Regions from separate parts of the Homo sapiens genome. Here regions 1, 2 and 3 are each linked to region 4. The links are contacts of gene promoters, found by promoter capture Hi-C in blood cells and fetal thymus (Javierre and others, 2016). All regions are on one chromosome and are shown on one strand. Each heading gives the region's core, a stretch centred on a gene start or on the middle of the fragment in contact. The rest is flanking DNA. Distances are from core to core; before and after follow the strand shown.

Region 1 (2,916 bases), core at 138-2,637, 210 kb before region 4:
ATATACATTGCATTTGAATAGTTTCTCTGAACTAAAAACCTCAAAAGCTTGCCAGGCAATTGTGCCTGGACAATCTTCAGACAACCCTGACAAGATGTTAGGAATTATCATTATCTTCATTTTTCTAAGATAGTGAATGAAAATCACATGATTTACCCTCAGTTAATCAAATATCTAGAGAACAATAATTAAGACTTAACACTTTGAAATGTATAAAGCATTCTGATATCTGAATCTCCTGACCCTTTCACTATAGCATTCTTTTCCCATTTAATTGCAAACCATGATTACATCATTTTAATTTGGTTTCTATTACCACGAATCCAAGAATAAACATAAAAAGCATATATATACATATATACATATACCCACATTACATATTTCCATCTCACCTACACATGTACTCATCTACACTGTACCACTGTCTTTGCTTCTGAAAGTCCAATTTACAGGGCACTCACAGGGAAGCACAGAGTCATTAGTTGCCTGCCAGTTGTTGTCGAGTGCCCCAAGTGCTGAGCTTTAAATCAACAGGCCTAATGGAACTATGCCATTTGTTTGGAGTTAGGGATTCACAATAGTTAAGGAGTAGCCTGTTGCTACAACTCACAGCAAAGCCCACAGGAACAGGAAAAGGTTGGGGACTGCCTGATGAGTTCATGCTGTCCCTCTATTCTCCCCTAAAAACAGACTTTGACAGTCTGATAAAAGAGGTGAGAAAAGGGATTAGGAGCTCTCTGATGAATTGATGCTTCTTTCAGTAAGTCACAAACTGCAGGCTATGTCAAGCAATTGTCACAGTGAAAGGCAGAGCTTATTCAAGTTGCAATTTCCCAGGATGACAGATCTGAAGTCACTTCAGGGTGAGATGGGAAGAGCAGCTCCTGGTGATTATTGAGGAAATGCATTCCTATGCATCTTGTCTTATTCGAAGAACCTGGCTTTAAAATTTAAGCTGGTCATTTTTAATTACCCATCTGATTATCCAATATGATCCCTGATCATTTTGAGAACTTTAATTATGGAAAGAGTATTATTTGGCAAGATCGTTCTTGCCAACAACTTAACGTCTGGCAAAGTACCTGAAACATCAATTTATTTCTCCATAGCATGACCAAGCAAAATATATAAAAGCCTTAAGGGACATTTCTTTTTAGAAAAACCAGTAAAAATAAATAACATTGATATTTATTTTTGACTTGTATAAATATCATTGATTTTTTTTAATGAATGACAAAAATATATATCAGTGTAAGGAATACCCTAACAGGTTAGACTGATAAATGCTACAGCTTCTATCTCGGGAAGGGGCCATGTGGGCTACGTGCTATCAACAGAAAAGAGTCCTAGCAGAAAACATCAGCTTGTTTTGCAATGCCAGTCAATTAAATGTTATTGTATTAGTATGCAAAGGAACAGAAAGAGAATGTGTGGGTATATTTATATCTTTCATATATGTACATATCTCATATATGTGAGAATATATACATATATTCTCATATTCAATTAATCTACATTTAAGTTTGCTGGAAGAAATCTAGATTAATATTAAAGGAAAATGTTAATCATAATGGTGATTATATATGCATGTTTGCTTATTTTCTTTATTTTTATTTTTATTTTTAGTAGACACAAGGTCTCCCTATGTTGCCCATGCTGGTCTCGAACTCCTGAGCTCAAGGGATCCTTCTGCCTCAGCCTCCCAAAAGTGAGCCACCCTGCCTGGCCTATTTGCTTATTTTCATGACAATGGTTCACATCTCTCATTAAAATGATGGGAATAGAAGGCTTAAAATTACATGCTGAGGTCATTTCAAATGAATAACATGTAATGAACACTAACTTTGTATAACACATTGCTTTTTAAAGTTATCACAGTAATTATCTATAACAAAACTAGAATACATCTTTCAGGCCAAAAGTAACATGAAAAAAATAATATGAAAAAATTTATATTTGAATTGTTCAAATCTAAAACTGAAATTCTGCTGCTTCAGTGGGACAGCCTACAGAATCCACTTGCAGAGTCAACAGCCAGCAACAAAGAGAGAGGCAGAAGAAGAGAAAATACAGAGCAAAACATTTGTGGCATACAGTCAAATTATAGTCTGAGAAATTTTTTTTTCACATACAGCTGCCTCACCAAGCAAAGAAATTCTGTGGCAGCCACCACTTCCCATATTAGCAAAGTGCATCATTACAATGGACATGGAAAGGGATATGAAATTACAGCAAATCACTTCCTCTAACATTGCAATTATATCTAAATGTGACACTAGGGTAGGTAGCTTATGAATCTGAGGAGAGAATATGATGCCTGAAAGAGCACTCAGAAAGAGCAGTTGCCTGAAAGTCTTATGATACTGATTCTCAGCCAGTATCTCCTGCTAACCAGCAGTGAAATTGTCCTCAAGACTCTGCTTCTCTCAGTTTACTCACTTGTAAAATGATGACATCAGACGAGATGATCTGTAAGATCATATTTTTCCACAATCTACAAATAATTTCATTCAACTTGAACAAATAACACAGCAGCCTTCCTAGCCTGGAAGCTACTCTCCCCATGTGATTTCTCATACACTAGAAACACACAGTTTGGACAGTAAGGAATATTTTTAAAAGTCATCTCTATGTAGAAATCAGACTCTGCCCAACAACAAATTGTAAGGTCTCTTCTCATTCTAATATTTTATGATATATGTTGGGTTTCAACTTCTGAGAAGCTTTTAAGATATCTTTTGCAAAGAAGAAAGGAATATCCTAAATCTCTCTCATGGAAATCAAAGGGAAATCAGAAACATAACTTCCTAGACATTTAAAAAATTTCCACAATGCAGCTACTTAGGGTATAAGTTTATATATATTTTTTACATTTCTAAAAGAAGACAGGTGTTAAAATAACGACTATACAGAATA
Region 2 (3,207 bases), core at 560-3,059, 180 kb before region 4:
TTTCACTGCTCAGGTCTTTCTTCTTTCTTTTCTGTTTGTGAATTAAGACATGGAAATTTCACAGGGAATAAGTAGGCACTATTTTGCCACCTATACGGGAAGTGGTAGAAAGTGATTGTCATTTTTGCTGACAAGGGGAGGGTAGTTAAAAAGAAACATGGTCAAATCAAAACATTAAAGATTTATGTATTCCAAATGGAGGTGTTACGTTCTTTTTCTTTTTTTTTCCTTTTCTGTTTTCCCCCAGAGTTTTCTAGCACAAACAAGTACCGCTGGTATAATCCAAAACATACAATCAACTTAATTTGGTTTTTTTAGTTATTGTGGTAAAAATATACATAAAATTTACCATTTTAACTATTTTAAAGTATATACTTCGTTAAGTATATACTATATAAGTGTCTGCATTTGGCATTAACTATATTCACATTACTCTGCAATCATCATCATTACCCATTTCCAAACTTCCTCATCATCCCAAAGAGAAACTCTGTACGCATTCAACTCTGCACTTCCTCCACACCGCCCCCGCCCATCCCTGGTAACCTTTATTCTATTTTCTGTCTCTATGTACTTGCCTATTCTAGGTACCTCATATATGTGGAATCATATAAAATTTGTCTTTCTGTGACTGGCTTCTTTCACTTAGTATAATGTCCTCAAGCTTCATGCATATTGTAGCATGTGTCATAATTTCCTTCCTTTTTAAGGCTGAATAATATTCCATTGGTCATCTGCTGAGGGACACTGGGCTGTTTCCACCTTTTGACAATTGTGAACAATGCTGCTATGAACAGTGGTGTGAAACAAGTATCTGAGTCCCTTCCTTCAATTCTTTTGGGGAGAATTTCCCAATTCCACCTAATAGAATTGCTGGGTTATATGGTAATACTTTTTTTTTTTTTTGAGACAGAGTCTCGCTCTGTCACCCAGACTGGAGTGCAGTGGCGCTATTTTGGCTCACTGCAACCTCCGCCTCCTGGGTTCAAGTGATTCTCCTGCCTCAGCCTCCTGAGTAGCTGAGATTACAGGCACACGCCACCACGCCCAGCTAATTTTCATATTTTTTAGTAGAGATGGGGTTTTACCATGTTGGCCAGGCTTGTCTCAAACTCCTGACCTCATGTGATCTGCCTGCCTCTCCCAAAATGCTGGCATTACAGGTGTGAGCCACCTCTCCCAGTCTATTATATGGTAATTCTATATTTAACTTTCTGAGGAACCACTTAACTGTTTTCCATAGTGGTTGTACCATTTTACATTACCCACCAGCAATGCACAAGGGTTCCAGGTCCGCCCCGCCCGTGTTCCTCAACACTTATTTTCCAGTTTTTTGAATAACAACCATCAGAACAGGTGTGAGGTGGTATCTCGTTGTGGTTTTCATTTGTATTTCCCTGATGACTAATGGTTTTGAGTATCTTTTCCCGTGCTTATTGGCCATTTGTTTATCATCTTCAAAGAAATGTCTATTTAAGTCCTTTGCCTGACTTAAATCAAGTTTGTTGTTGTTGTTGCATTATAGGAGTTCTTTATCTATTCTGGACATTAATCTCTTATCAGATATATGCTTTACAAATACTTTTGCCCATTCTGTGGGTTGCCTTTTTACTCTCCTGTTAGTGTCCTCTGATTTGAGAAAAAAATCAGAGGACACCGACAAATAAAGTTAATGTAATCAACTTTATTTTTTAAAGAAGGTATGGGTTGAATTTTTAGGGAGCAAACAGACAGCCTGAAATATGGATGGAGAAGGTACGCCTAATACCTCCTTTTTACCCTTCTGTGGGTGAAGGAACAAGAACTGAGGTATTCTCAATGAGGTCACAAACTCATCAATCGTCCCCCAACTTGGCTCCTTTTTAGGCAGCTAATGCGGTGGGGCACTTGTGTACTAATGACAGTCACAGAAAGGAAACTCATCTGGGTGTGGTAGTGAGCCCAGCAAGGGCAAACAGGCAGGGTGGGGAGGACATAGATCTTACAGGCTTATACGATTCCTCAGCCCTACCAGCTCTCTGTTTCTGGCTGGTTCTTAACTACACACTCAAACTTCCAAACTTCTCACATAGAAGACAAACATGCAGATTTGTCACTACTGAATGGAGAGGAATGCTTGAGTAATTATTGTGAAAAGTGACACCCAAGTTCAGTTCCATCTCGGAGGATCAAACTCCCCTTCTTGTCTCTCTGCCCCTTATTTCCTTTCTCTTCAGTCCCCCCTGCAAAATGGGCCTTCGAACCAACTATTTGTCACATGGGAGTTTGTTTTCTAAGTATTATTGAGTATGATCAATTTACACAGGCAATGAGAAAAAGCAATACATATTCATTTTCTTCTAGGAATAGCCCCGGAACTATACTCAAATCCTCTAGAAATGGCTGTGTCTCAGTAGCTTATGTGAATAAACTCAGTCCAAATTTCAGGACTATCGTGAGGCTGAACTGTTGAATATCCTTACTAAACGTGAGAAACACAGTGCACAGTGCAGGTCCTGTAAACTGAAATTTCTCGCTCTACAAAGTACTGATTTGTTTTTGAAAGGTATTGACAATTACAGATCACCAACCTACCAAACTGTCTTTTCATAAGCAGAGTAAATAACCTAAAATCTTCTTACCTAGGAAGCACACCTAAAACCCCATGAACTGCCTGCTGCACATGCATTCATTTAACCAAGAATCCAATGAGAAGGATATTTCTAGAAAGGTCTCCACCTAGACATACAAATGGCTTAGAAATTTCAATGTTAAACAACCTTTATGCTCAGTAAGTTCTTTTTTGTATTTAATTCAAATCCTAAGGGCAAAAACTCAACTTCTTTAGCATGTGACCATATGTCCTACCCTCAAAGCCATTTCATTATGAGGGTGGGGAAATGAAAGAAAATGTAGGACAGGAGGAAGAAATGTAACTCTTCTCTATTATGCTTCTAACATTTATTGAAAGCTTGCTAAGCACCAGGTACTATGCGAAATGCATTACATGCGTTACCTCATTTAATTTTAGCAATGACTGTATGAGGTAGAGAATACTATCACTACTCACATTTTATCAATGGGAAAACAGATTAAGAGAGGTCAGAAACTTGCCCAAGTGAGCAAATAGAGTCAGCGTAGTACGCCAAATTCTGAGATGCCCCTAGAATTCTTGCCTCCTGGTCTACTCACCCTGTTTAATTCTCCTCTTGAATGTAAGCGGGACCT
Region 3 (3,302 bases), core at 469-2,968, 200 kb before region 4:
TATCCCCTCTGAGTAAACTTACTGTAAGTTTGTGTTTCTGTAAGGACTTCCACATATGTGGCCAGCAGCGAAGACATAACTAAGCCCAGAAACTTAGGGAGGGCAGAAGTTGCTAAGGAACCTGTGCCAGAGCTGTTAGTGGTGGCAGAACTTCTCCTTCCCCGGGTCAAAAAGCAACACAGGCCAGGCGTGGTGGCTCAAACCTGTAATCCCAACACTTTGGGAGGCAGAGGCGGGTGGATCACCTGAGGTCAGGAGTTCAAGACCAGCCTGGCCAAAAGGGTGAAACCCCGTCTCTACCAAAAATTAAAAAAAAAAAAAAAATTAACTGGGGGTGATGGCGGGTGCCTGTAAGCCCAGCTACTCAGGAGGCTGAGGCAGAAGAATCACCTGAACCCGGGAGGCAGAGGTTGCAGTGAGCCGAGATCGCGCCACTGCACTCCAGCCTGGGTGACAAGAGCGAAACTCTGTCTCAAAAAAAAAAAAAAAAAAAAAAAAAAAAAAAAGCAACAGTGTAATTCTGGCTCTTGCATTTGTTTGCTGTATGACCTTGGACTGGTCATTTTAGGACTCTGTTTTCTTTTTCTTTTTCTTTTTTTTTCCCAAGGACCAGGCTGTCATATAGGACTCAGTTTTCTCCTCTTTTGGAAAGTGCTCTGAAAACTACAAAAGGCTAAACAAATGTCTTATTCCTCTGCTATTTGTTCCAAAAACATTTCCCATATGACATCCTGTGAGGAATTAGTGCTAGAGATGAGAAAATGGAGAGCTCAAACAGGTTAAGTGACTGAGCCATGGTCATCCAGCTAGTAAGTGGTAGAAATAAGATTTGAGCCCCAACAGTCTGGCTCCTGGGCCAGTGTGCTCATGCCATTCCTTCAATTCAACTGAAAGAGATGCACTTTTTCCAAGGGATGGCTAGGTTCATCAAACTGAACTAATTATCATCAAGCTTTTTCACTGACACTACTGGAAAATGCTCACTACATTATCCATCATCAGCTATATTTTAGTTTATGATCAATACAGGTTCACTAAAGCCAAAAAGTGAGCTCTCATACATTTTGGAATTTCAAAGAGGAAAGTTAAAACCTATTCAATTAACCAAAACACTGCATTTAACCAAACATGCAGGTTCCTTGAAGATTTGCTTTATTACAAATTATAACTGAAAGGTTTCACAAGTGGTGTTTGTTTGTTTTGAGATGGAGTCTCTATCTGTCGCCCAAGCTGGAGTGTGATGGCATGATCTCCGCTCACTGCAACCTCCGCCTCCCGGGTTTACAACATTGTCCTGCCTCACCCTCCCAAGTAGCTGAGACTACAGGCGCCTGCCACCACGCCCGGCTAATTTTTTGTATTTTTAGTAGAGACAGGGTTTCACCGTGTTAGCCAGGATGGTCTCGATCTCCTGACCTTGTGATCTGCCCGCCTCGGCCTCCCAAAGTGCTGGGATTACAGGCGTGAGCCACTGCACCCGGCCTCACAAGTGGTTTTAACAAGGTAAAAAAGCTTAATAATTCTCCTGTTGCATGTTTCCCTGGAATGCTAAACTTACCATGGCAACATTCGAAAGTCCCCAGAGAAGTCCTCATACTTGTAGTTTACCACGTGCCAATCTGTGCTATAGGTTTTAATACACTGAAAGAAAATAGGAATCTTGAATTTGAAATATAGGAAAAGTACATATATATCCACTTTTTAAAACTCTGGTACTATGCCGACAGGCTTTCTAAAACCATTTGGCAATTACTAGTACTGGGATCTTCCTTTATGGGTTAACTGTGTCTCTCTTACCCAGTTGGTGGCAATAAATCCCAATTCATATGCCCTTTGAATACTCTGACTCTCAGTGCAAAGAGTATTCAAATCCAAAAGGAAAACACTAAGGTCATATGCACCTTGTGGAAATGTTTAAGCTTTATCATCATATAGACTTGTTAACAGCATATAAACTTGTTATTTAGGACAGTTAATGTTAGTTATTTTATTTTACCTTTACATTAAAGGAAGACTACTTTAAATATTTTACATTTATGTATTTATAAACAGGTTACAAATACATAAAGACATATAAATACTGTATATATTTTAAATATATGAAGAATATTCTTCTGTGGCCTTTGAGCCTCTTACCTCTTTAACAAATAAACTCTGGGCCCTCTTTTCAGCATCTTCTGGTACAGTAGACTGCACCGTTCTGCGTTGACGACCTATCACCGAGATCTAGAACACAAAGAACATTTTTGCTGTAAGAACTGGCTTGAAAAATAGGGGTTTTTTTCTTTAAAGAAGTGTTTGTGAACTCACAGATATATCTTCCATTGGGAACATAAGCAGATCTCGGAGGGGGTCGCTGTAAATCTGGGTTTTTCTTTGGGCAATAACATTCTCATAGTCCAGGGGCTCAACAACTTTGGCCTTTTCCTTTATAAGAGACAAAAGTAAAGTTATTATGATCAAACTCACAAGAGTTAAATAACTTTCTATGTACTAAAGATACATTACTTCTCAAAGGAAGGGATTACTGATACTTTTAAGTACTTAATTGAGACAGTTTCACAAGAGAAATAGTCTTCATAGCTAGACACACACCACAAACACATACACACACACACACACACACACACAAACACACACACACACACACAGACATTCTCTTGCTAAAGATAAAGAGTTCTGGCTGGGCATGGTGGCTCATGCCTGTAATCCCAGTACTTTGGGAGGCTGAGGAAGGTGGATGACTTGAGCCCAGGAATTAGAGATCAGCCTGGGCAACATGAGAAAACCCCATCTCAACAAAAAGTACAAAAATTAGCTGGGTGTGATAGCCCATGCCTGTAGTCCCAGCCACTCGGGAGGCTGAGGCAGGAGGATCACTTGAGCCTGGGAGGTTGAGGTTGTAGTGATCCGTGATTGTGCCACTTATATCTGGGCAACAGAGCAAGATCCTGTCTCTCCAAAAAAAAAAAAAAAGTTCTGGAGAAATAGAACTGTGTTATTCTACTTAATCTGTGTGCCTTCTAAAAATTATTGAATTTTAAGTAAAACAAAAAGTGGCATACTTGGAAGTGTGCCTGTTGGTATTTACTGCATCTGTACTACTCTCTGGGCAACGTTGGAGGAGAAAGTATCAACATTCATGTTCCTACTCTGTACCAGGGACACTGTCCCATGGGCATACTAAGTTCCAGCATATCCAGGGCAGGCATAGATACTAGAGATGCTTGATCCCTTGGGCAGGTTATGAAAGGGTTAGGTTCAAGGTGACAAAGTCAGTGGATCCCTGCTGGACTTCTAGG
Region 4 (3,203 bases), core at 281-2,780:
AGTAAGTGTGAGAATTGAAGGCAGTGAACTTCTCGAACCATATTAGTCCTTTATACTAACATCTACATTTTACCAATCCTCAAGTTCTTACAGCATGAAAATATATTTCACTGCCTCTATTTCCACGTACATTCGTAGGGGAGTTCGGCGAAATCGCTTTAAAGCACTACCCCAACTTTGAAAAGTGGAGAAGTGGGTAAGTAAATACAAGTCCTAGTCAAGCGAGCATTCCAACTACTGTACTTCCTATTCAGAATCACCCATATTAATCACCACTAAAACATCTTGCAGAATTAGATAAAGAACACAAAGCTGGGGCTCTCCTTCCAATCACCAGATTACTCAGCACTTGTTTGTCCCTCTGCAGTCAGTTGTGCACATTTCTTCTGTCTGGCCATCCTTTTAGACCGCATTCTGCCTAATAGGGACCGTGTATTCGATTTCCTTTACCTCACGATAAGGTGTTATTTTAATAAAACACTGTTGATCTAGAGTACATTCGCTAGAGGACTTTCTTAAGCAAATACCCAACCTTCCCCCCGCTCCTTTTCGCTGTGTGCAAGAAAAAGAGGACGGCAAATAGGGGAGAGTTACAGCCACCTCTGAAGTGAATAGGTAAGTTAGCGGTAAACGGGAGAATAAAAAACTACAAGTTACATTTCTCCTGTTACTGCTCCTTTAATCTACGGTCCCCGAGGCCAAAACGGATGTTTGAAAGGTAAGCTCAGAACCCCACAGATACAAATCTCCGACTCAGGCACGTAAGCTGTTCCCCCTCACAGAAGGCTGGATCAGAAGAGAAACGGGCTCCGAGACCGACCCTGGGACCGTTCAGTAGGGAAACGGCCGGGAGGCTGCCCGAGGTGGCTGACTCCCCCTTCTCCGAGTCACCCCGCCCTAAGAAGCCCCAGGTCTGGGTTCTGAAGTCCTCCAGTGAGACGGGGAGGAACAGCGGTGGCGGACACAGCGGGACCTGGGAGGGGTGTAGGGGGAAGACACAGGAGATGCGGGGGGCTTGGGATGCCCGGCTTCCTGTCATAGCTGCAGTCACTTACCCCACGGGGTAGCCGCCCCCTAGGTGCACATCTTCAGGGGCATCATAGAATTCCTCGGTGTCGCTTTCCGACGCCATTTATAGGACACACCCGCGGGTGAGGGGGCCGGCGCCGCCTGGAGGAAGGGTGACTCTTGTCTCCTCCTCGTCGACCTCCACCCGGGCGAGACTGGGGAAGTGGGTCTCGGGCGAGGCTGAGGGAGCAGACGATCTGTAGCGAGGAGACTGTTAAGGAAAGGGGGCCGCCCTCAGTTGCCGGGCTTCGGGAATGACCGGCAAAGCGGCCGCCTGAAGAGGCGGCGGTTGGTCCAGGGAATGTTGCTGCCACCGCTCCCAGTGATAGGTGTATAAGGAGCGCGAAAGAGGCGGTGGCTCCTCGCAGTAAGGGAAGAAGGGCGCGCCGGCTACAGCGGCTCCAGTTTCTCCCGCAGCAGCAATTTACAGCAGCTGGAAGAGCTAGTTGCCCGCAAAATACCGACGCGCACCTACCCTCGCGAGATTTCGGAGGGGCGGTAATACGTGGGCGGGGCGAAGAGGTGGCGGGGGCGGTTCCAGAGAGGCAGCGCTCCGATTACTTCGGCCCGAGAAGCCTATCAAAACGGCGCAAGCGCGTTGAGGGCGTTCGGTGAGGGCCGGAAGTAGCCGAGAAGGGAGGGGGTGAGCCTCCCGAAGGGAGGAGTCTAGGACCTGCGCAGGAGCAGCGTGGTGCCCTGGCTCTGAGAGCGCGCGGCCGACGTAGGTGGGGTCAGGCAGAAAGTCTTACTCCCTAACTCTGCAGTTCCAAAGAGACGCGTTTTGAGAGGGGTGATTTTGAGTCGGTCTTTTACTTGTAAAGAAATACTCTCGGGAAACGTTGGTGTGGACATTTTGGCGTATATTTACGATGTCTTACTATCCAAGCCCGGAATGTCCCACCCTAGGGCGTCGGCAGGTCCACCACCTCTGGCGTTACGAGAATAACTCGCCCTTATTCACTACGAGATCTCTAATTGAGATCCCTAGATATGATCCTGCCGGCCAGAGGGTGGGGTCCTTGAGATATACACGGGGAGTGTGCCAGTTCCATGGTGTAATGATGGATTTATTGCTGGAGCTGAGCCAGTATTAGGCCTCCGGTTACTTTTTCTCCGCACATGTCTGTCGCTGCCAACACAGTGTGAGAGAAGTTCTTACATACTGCCCAAGATGTGCGTCAGCTAAATGGTAAATATTTATTGAGCAGATATCATTGCAAGCCTACGAGCTAATGGCTTAATTCTGATCCTCAACTGCCCAGCGTCCGGTGATAAAAATAGAAAGGTACTTTTTAAAAAACCGAGATGTTCCTTCTTAAACCACGGGTCATTGACCATCAAGGTGATAACATTGACTTTCAGTATGATCACACAGCATATTTATTTCTCCAACTGACATCATGATAGGCATTTTGAGCTGTTCGTGCAGCCTCAATTAGTATTCAAGAAAAGGCTGGATTGGAGCCAGGGGTATGGTCTCAGAGAAACTGGAAAGGGGCTCTAGACTTTGTCAAGCAATCAGGGCAAGGTCTGCTGTGGTCTAGTGGACTTGGGTAAAAACCAAATGTCATATACTGTATATTCTATAATACCCCAGGGAGTTTAGGGAAAACACTGCGTAATCAAATATATTAATATTTTTGCAGCAAGATATATGATTGTTCATACGGGATAAATAAATACAAGTAAATAGCCTCATTCAGTTTGAGTCAGACGCTTCTGCCAAATAAGTTTAAGATAGATCTATTTGACTGTCAAATAAATTACTAAAAAAAAAAAAAAACAGAAACTTGGTTTCCAGAGCTTTTGAAGTTTCAGAATTGGAGACAAGGGATTTGTGGATCCTTGTGAGGGTATGACTTTTGTCAAACCTAAAAATTATTAGGTTTTATGTGTCTTAAACATGTTAATTAACTTCCTAGGTATAAAAATGTAACTCAAAGTACTAACTTTTAAAAACGTTTTGCTCACTAAGATAGGTTTTTTTGTTTTCTTTTTGGATTATGGAAAGATACCAGATATAAGGTAGGGAAATATATATTTATGGAAAGATGTTAACTACCTGAATGTATTCTCTTCCTAGATATCTAATAGTGAATTTATGGCTTCCAAAGAAAAAAAAGTTAGTTTTCTCT

What was found. The method cuts DNA at HindIII sites, captures the fragments that hold promoters and counts their contacts. A CHiCAGO score of 5 or more calls a contact.
Region 1: a contact is called between a fragment that was not itself captured here and the fragment with the promoter of WDR44 in region 4, in 1 of 17 cell types (activated CD4 T cells). The highest score is 5.5, in activated CD4 T cells.
Region 2: a fragment that was not itself captured here is called in contact with the fragment with the promoter of WDR44 in region 4 in 1 of 17 cell types (activated CD4 T cells); the score reaches 5.5 in activated CD4 T cells.
Region 3: a fragment that was not itself captured here is called in contact with the fragment with the promoter of WDR44 in region 4 in 1 of 17 cell types (activated CD4 T cells); the score reaches 5.0 in activated CD4 T cells.

What each region holds. Positions count from the first base shown.
Region 1 is chrX:118,558,430-118,561,345 of GRCh38, reverse strand. All of the region lies in intron 6 of DOCK11 (dedicator of cytokinesis 11), which reads right to left. Among named protein-coding and RNA genes, the nearest start is that of DOCK11, 64 kb to the right of the region's middle. The HindIII fragment of the contact is 2,676 bases long and covers 50-2,725 here.
Region 2 is chrX:118,522,844-118,526,050 of GRCh38, reverse strand. The region is part of intron 1 of DOCK11 (dedicator of cytokinesis 11); the gene reads right to left. Among named protein-coding and RNA genes, the nearest start is that of DOCK11, 29 kb to the right of the region's middle. RefSeq lists an enhancer at 1,812-1,871. The HindIII fragment of the contact is 2,286 bases long and covers 667-2,952 here.
Region 3 is chrX:118,541,850-118,545,151 of GRCh38, reverse strand. It overlaps DOCK11 (dedicator of cytokinesis 11), which reads right to left. Exons shown (of 53, transcript NM_144658.4): 2 at 2,311-2,427; 3 at 2,137-2,226; 4 at 1,559-1,641. Among named protein-coding and RNA genes, the nearest start is that of DOCK11, 48 kb to the right of the region's middle. The HindIII fragment of the contact is 407 bases long and covers 1,515-1,921 here.
Region 4 is chrX:118,344,433-118,347,635 of GRCh38, reverse strand. WDR44 (WD repeat domain 44) reads right to left here and starts at 1,530. Exons shown (of 20, transcript NM_019045.5): 1 at 1,056-1,530. The coding sequence starts at 1,132. RefSeq lists enhancers at 855-1,398, 1,940-1,989, 2,180-2,299. The HindIII fragment of the contact is 5,332 bases long and covers 1-3,203 here.